Linked DNA regions of Homo sapiens: region 1 is linked to region 2. Evidence: promoter capture Hi-C in 16 types of primary human blood cells and fetal thymus (Javierre and others, 2016). All regions are on one chromosome and are shown on one strand. The core of a region is centred on a gene start or on the middle of the fragment in contact, and the rest is flanking DNA. Distances in the headings are between cores, read along the strand shown. Region 1 holds the start of SBK2 (SH3 domain binding kinase family member 2). Region 2 holds the start of NCR1 (natural cytotoxicity triggering receptor 1).

Region 1 (2,792 bases), core at 168-2,667, 630 kb before region 2:
TCCAGTCTGGGTGACAGAGCGAGATTCCGTCTCAAAAAGCAAAAAAAAAAAAAAAAAAAAGAAATAAAAAACCCTGAAGGGTGGGTGCAACCGTCCCAGAAAAAAACAGGGGTCTGAAGTCCCACTGTGGCCCAAGGCTTGGGGACTTCCTAGTGGGGCTTAATCTCCCTGTGCTTACAGCAGGGAGGCACTCACTGGCCTGTATTCCTGTTATGCGCTTTCAAACTATTTTTATTGTTATTCCTCTCTTTGGAATCAGGAGCCCTCAGGCCCTCCTCCCTCAGACCCAGGAGTCCAGGTCCTCAACCCCCTCCTCCCTCAGGCCCAGGAGTCCAGGTCCTCAACCCCCTCCACCCTCAGGCCCAGGAGTCCGGGTCCTCAACCCCCTCCTCCCTCAGACCTAGGAGTCCAGGTCCTCAACCCCCTCCTCCATCAGGCCCAGGAGTCCGGGTCCCGTGTAGAAAATGAAATCATTTCTGGAACCCACCCCTGCCTTGACCCCACCCAGCTGCCCCATCAATGCCCCATTGACAGGTCAGACACAAGTGCTTGGAGAGGGGTGTCCAGGGGATCAGATGCTGGGGTCTAGTTTGGGGAAAGAATGAGACAATGAGATTCCAGAACGATGCAGTGTGGGATGACCTCAGACTCAGAGGGGCGGGAAGCAGGTGCTGGAGCAACTGGGAAGAGAGGCCTTGAGGGGGTGGGGAGGCCTCAGTTCTGCCGGAAAACTTCAGATGGGTGGGGGAGGCTGAGGCCTGGACTCCTGGGTCTGAGGGAGGAGGGACTGGGGCCTGGACTCCTGGGTCTGAGGGAGGAGGGGCTGGGGCCTGGACTCCTGGGTCTGAGGGAGGAGGGGCTGGGGGTCTGGACTCCTAGGTCTGAGGGAGGAGGGGCTGGAGACCTGAATTCCTGGGTCTGAGGGAGGAGGGGCTGGAGACCTAGACTCCTGGGTCTGAGGGAGGAGGGGCTGGGGTCTAGACTCCTGGGTCTGAGGGAGGAGGCACTGGGGGACTGGATTCCTGGGTCTGAGGGAGGGAAAGCTGGGGGCCTGGATTCCTGGGTCTGAGGGAAGAAGAGCTGGGGGCCTGGACTCCTGGGTCTGAGGGAGGAGGGGCTGGGGCCTGGACTCCTGGGTCTGAGGGAGGAGGCACTGGGAGACTGGATTCCTGGGTCTGAGGGAGGAGGCGCTGGGGGCCTGGACTCCTGAGTCTGAGGGAGGAGGAGGGGCTGGGGCCTGGACTCCTGGGTCTGAAGGAGGAGGGCTCAACTCTTGGGTCAGGGTATTCACCTGACCACAGCCAGTTCCAGGAGTCATCACACGATGTCGCTCTGCTCCCAGTGGGGGCAGAAGGGGCGGGCCCAGGGGCGGGGCCTTACGACCCCCAAAGTCGGGGCGGGGTCTTGCTCCTAGGCAGGCCTCTGCTGGCATGAGCCCTAAGTGCCGGGCACTGACCACAGCCGGCGGCCGGAGGGTCAGGAGGGCCTTGGAGGAGGTGAGGTCTGGAGGTCTGAGCCCAGGTTGGGAGGTGGGCAAGGTGCCCTGGCCTGAGGTGGGCAGCACCTGAGGGTGACTGTACCAGGTGGCCCGAGTCCTCGGTCCCTCAGGGGAGCCTGGGCTGCACCTGGAGGCTGTAGAGCGGTGGAGGGTGAGGGAAACAGAATCAGGGGGTCCCCAGTTGTGTGAATTGTATGAGGTTCCGGGAGAGAGGTGGGCTGGGGGCCTGGACCCCTGGGCCTGGCGGAGGAGGGGCTGGGGGGCTGGGTCGGAGGGAGGTGGGTGGGCTGTGAAAGTGGGACCCCAGGCCTGTCAGGAGCTTGGGGACTGATCCCAAGTGCTCGGTCCCATGCAGGACCCAGGCGTCCCAGGCCCTCTGCACAGCCCGCCCTCCCAGCCCTGAGCCCAAGAGCACCTGTTTGTTCTCAGGAGACAGAGTCTACTCATCCACCCCCAGGGCCCAAGTCTGTTTGCTTTGGAAACAAGATGGGGGAGTCTCAGTTATCTGGTTCATCTTTCAACCTCAGGGTGGGCGGGTGGCGGCGGCGGCACGCGGGCAGGGACATCTGTGACCTGGGGCTTGAACTCACACCAGACTTGTCTCCCCACCTCTCACCAAGAGGGAGACTGAGTCACAATGAGAAGCGCGATGAGCCCCCAGCCCCTCCTCCCTCAGACCCAGGAGTCCAGACCCCCAGTCCCCTCCTCCCTTGGGCCTGGGACCTGAGCCTGGGCACCCCTCTCTGTTCTCGCAGAGATGCCCGGCAAACAGTCTGAGGAAGGGCCGGCGGAGGCAGGGGCTTCGGAGGACAGCGAGGAGGAGGGTCTGGGCGGCCTGACATTAGAGGAGCTCCAGCAGGGCCAGGAGGCTGCCCGCGCGCTGGAGGACATGATGACGCTGAGTGCTCAGACCCTGGTCCGAGCCGAGGTGGACGAGCTCTACGAGGAAGTGCGTCCCCTGGGCCAGGGTTGCTATGGCCGCGTCCTTCTGGTCACCCATCGTCAGAAAGGTACGAGGCTGTGGGGCCAGAGGTGGCAGGGTTCAGCTGGGGGCGGGGCACGGGCCTGGGGTAGCCCAGGCTGGGGAGGCTGGCAGGCCTGAATCAAGTCTTACCTCTGCCCTCCAAAGCTGTGTGTTTTTTGTTTTTTGTTCTTTTGGTTGGTTGGTTGTTTTTGAGACAGTCTGGCTCTGCCGCCCAGGCTGGAGTGCAGTGGCACAATCTCACTGCAACTTCCACCTCCCAGGTTCAAGTGTTCCTCCTGCCTCAGCCTCCCATGTAGCTAGGACTATAGG
Region 2 (3,040 bases), core at 490-2,989:
TTCAACACAAGTATATGACACAGAATATAGAAATAACTTTTCCTAATCAATCAAAATATAAGCAACCCAATTTAAAAATAGGCAAAAGATTTAAATAGACATTTCACAAAAGAAGATATTTGAATGGACATGAAATACTGTTGTGAGCTGCATAATGACATTTTGGCCAACAATGTACCACATATATGATGGTGGTCCCATAAGATTATAATGAAACTGAAAAATTCCTATTGCCTGATGACATCATAGCCTTCCTAGCACAAAGTATTGCTCATGTGTTTTTGGTGTTGCTGGTATAAACAAACCTAATTGTATAGCACATACAATTATGTATGTATATGTAACTATGTATAATACTTGATAATAATAATAAACAACCATATTGTTAAAAAAAAAAAAAAGCTAATTTTTTTTTTTTTTTAGAAAACCACCACCTGGCTGGGTGTGATGGCTCACACCTGTAATCCCAGCACTTTGGGAGGGTGAGGCGGGCGGATCATCTGAGGTCAGGAGTTCGACACCACCCTGGCCAACATGGTGAAACCCCATCTCTACTAAAAATACAAAATGTGGCGTAGTGGTGGGTGCCTGTGATCCCAGCTACTTGGGAAGCTGAGGCTGGAGAATCACTTGAACCCAGGAGGTGGAGGTTGCAGTGACTGGAGATTGCACCACTGCACTCCAGCCTGGGTGACAAGAGCGAAACTCCGTCTCAAAACAGATAAAAAAAAAAAAAACCCACCACCTGTGATGGGTGAGGGAAGCAAAGTGTAAGCCACTGCGCCTGGCCCACAGGCATTGTTTTTGAGGACATTCCTCAGTCATACCCCTGCATACAAATATCTATCTCAGAATCTGTGTCATGGAGAAACTGACTGAGGACACATCTGCTCCTAGGACGTAGAGACACGGTCTGCAGACAACCCCTTGTAGGCAAGGATTGTGATGGGGATCACCCCTCCTTCCAGCCTCCTACCGAGACAAGCAGTGTCTGAGTGGGGCTTGGAAGAGTTCATAGATGATGCTGCATCCCGGATGCAGACTGAGATCACTCTCCAGTTAGAGAACCGGACAGTTACCTGTTACCACCAGATCCAGCAAGTTGCTGGGCTCTGACCAGAGCTCCCCAACCCGATAGATGCAGCTGTATTGCCCTGCCATGCGGGAGTTCATGTCCGGGATGTAGAATTGGACTTTGTTAATCCGCTCAGGGGGTTTTGGTCTGTCCACGGCAAAAAGGCTTCCTTCAAAGTGCAGCTGGTATTCAACAGCCCCATAATTTCCCTGGCAACAGATGGTCACTTGCTTTTCCTTTGGAACCATGAAATGGGGCTCGGCCCAGATGAACGGTTTTGGGAGAGTCTCTGGAAGGGAATCAGAGGCTGGAGTTCCAGCGGAGCCCCCTCCCCCCAACCTTAGGCTCCACCCAGCTGCTGGCCCCAAGCTCTCCTGGGAAGCCAGCACCCTGTCCCCTCACCCCAGCCGTGCTTGGGTGGAAGGAGCTTGGCCTGAATCCGGAAGAGTGACCCTGGGCTTTGAAGGAAGGACTCACGCTGCTGGGCGCTGATCCTCTGACTCAGACACAGCCCTGGAAGACGGGAGTAATGAGACCTGTTGCCTCCCAGGCACACCGTGATCCCATTCCCCTTCCACGCCAGAACTCACCGACGCAGAGCAGGGCAGGGAGTGTGGAAGACATCGCTCAGATTCTGCCGGCCTAGTGCTGAGCAGTGGGGACTGAGCCGGGCGGGCCAGGGAGATAGATACACAGGAAGTGGTGGGTGAGCACCAGCGCCCATCACCAGAGCGCTTTCACGTTGACTGCTTTCATCAGAACGTTCACAACTCCCCTCCGCCTCTGACCATGAGCTTACAGAAAGGCCGTGGTCCCTCTGACACATCTGTGGTCTAGCCAGCAACTCTGACAATTGTCTGCTCAGCCCAAAATGCATTTCTGGGTCAACTTCTCAATTCTGCAATGTGGAGGTCGTACCCAGAGCTGACTGTGGGAAGTTGTGCCCAATCATGCCCAGAGGAAACCCCCTGAGAATCGTATAAAAACATAGGGAGTTTCACAGTGAGATACTGGAACAGGAATTAAAAGAAATTACAGAATGTGTAAACAAAAACTCAGTTGTATTTAAGAAAACCCAGTTCCCCCCGAGGAAGAGAAAGAGGTGGAGTCCTTTAAACATGAACTGCCTGTTTTTCTGTCTGTGGCTAGTGAGCCTTATCTCTCCCTTTCCCAGGCATTGTGAAGACCCTGTTTCTCTTGCCGTGCGGCTGCAAGGTCACTAGACAGGATAACCTCAAGTCGTAAAACATATTTTTCTTGAAAAGTAAGGAATAATGTGATGCATGTCTCAATTGAATAACTGCCTTTGTTTCTTGCTTCTGTAATATGCTTCCCCCTGCACAGATCTCCCCCAACCCCACAAAATGCTTAAAAGGTAACCGGACTCTCTGTTCGAGCCTCAGTCTTTTTGGATGTTAATCTGACTGGGGCCGGTGCACCTAAATAATAATAATAATAATAAATCCTCCTCAACCCCTCGGTCTCTCTGATTCCTAAATTATCCCTCAACAATACCATCTCACACCAGTCAGAATGGCCATTACTGAAAAGCCAGAAATTAACAGATGCTGGTGAGATTGTGGAGCAAAGGGGACACTTATACACTGTTGGTGGGTGTAAATTAGTTCAGCCACTGTGGAAAGCAGTTTGGTTTGGAGATATTTCAGAGAACTACAAACAGAGTTACCATTCAGCCCAGCAATCCCATCGCTGGGTATATAGCCAAAGGAAAATAAATCATTCTACCAAAAAGACACATGCACTTGTATGTTCATTGCAGCAGGATTCACAATAGTGAAGACATGGAATCCACCCAGGTCCCATCAGAGGTGGACTGGATAAAGACAATGTGATATGTATACACCACAGAACGCTATACAGCCTTGAAAAATCACAAGATTATGTCCTTTGCAGCAACATGGATGCAGCTAGAGGCCATTATCCTAAGCGAGTTAACACAGAAAC

What was found. The method cuts DNA at HindIII sites, captures the fragments that hold promoters and counts their contacts. A CHiCAGO score of 5 or more calls a contact.
Region 1: the fragment with the promoter of SBK2 here is called in contact with the fragment with the promoter of NCR1 in region 2 in 1 of 17 cell types (fetal thymus); the score reaches 5.4 in fetal thymus.

The regions. Positions count from the first base shown.
Region 1 is chr19:55,535,758-55,538,549 of GRCh38, reverse strand. It overlaps SBK2 (SH3 domain binding kinase family member 2), which reads left to right and starts at 1,417. Exons shown (of 4, transcript NM_001370096.2): 1 at 1,417-1,496; 2 at 2,254-2,508. The coding sequence starts at 2,256. RefSeq lists a silencer at 514-808. The HindIII fragment of the contact is 39,425 bases long and covers 1-2,792 here.
Region 2 is chr19:54,904,847-54,907,886 of GRCh38, reverse strand. It overlaps NCR1 (natural cytotoxicity triggering receptor 1), which reads right to left and starts at 1,739. Exons shown (of 7, transcript NM_004829.7): 1 at 1,666-1,739; 2 at 1,553-1,588; 3 at 1,080-1,364. The coding sequence starts at 1,699. The HindIII fragment of the contact is 17,616 bases long and covers 1-3,040 here.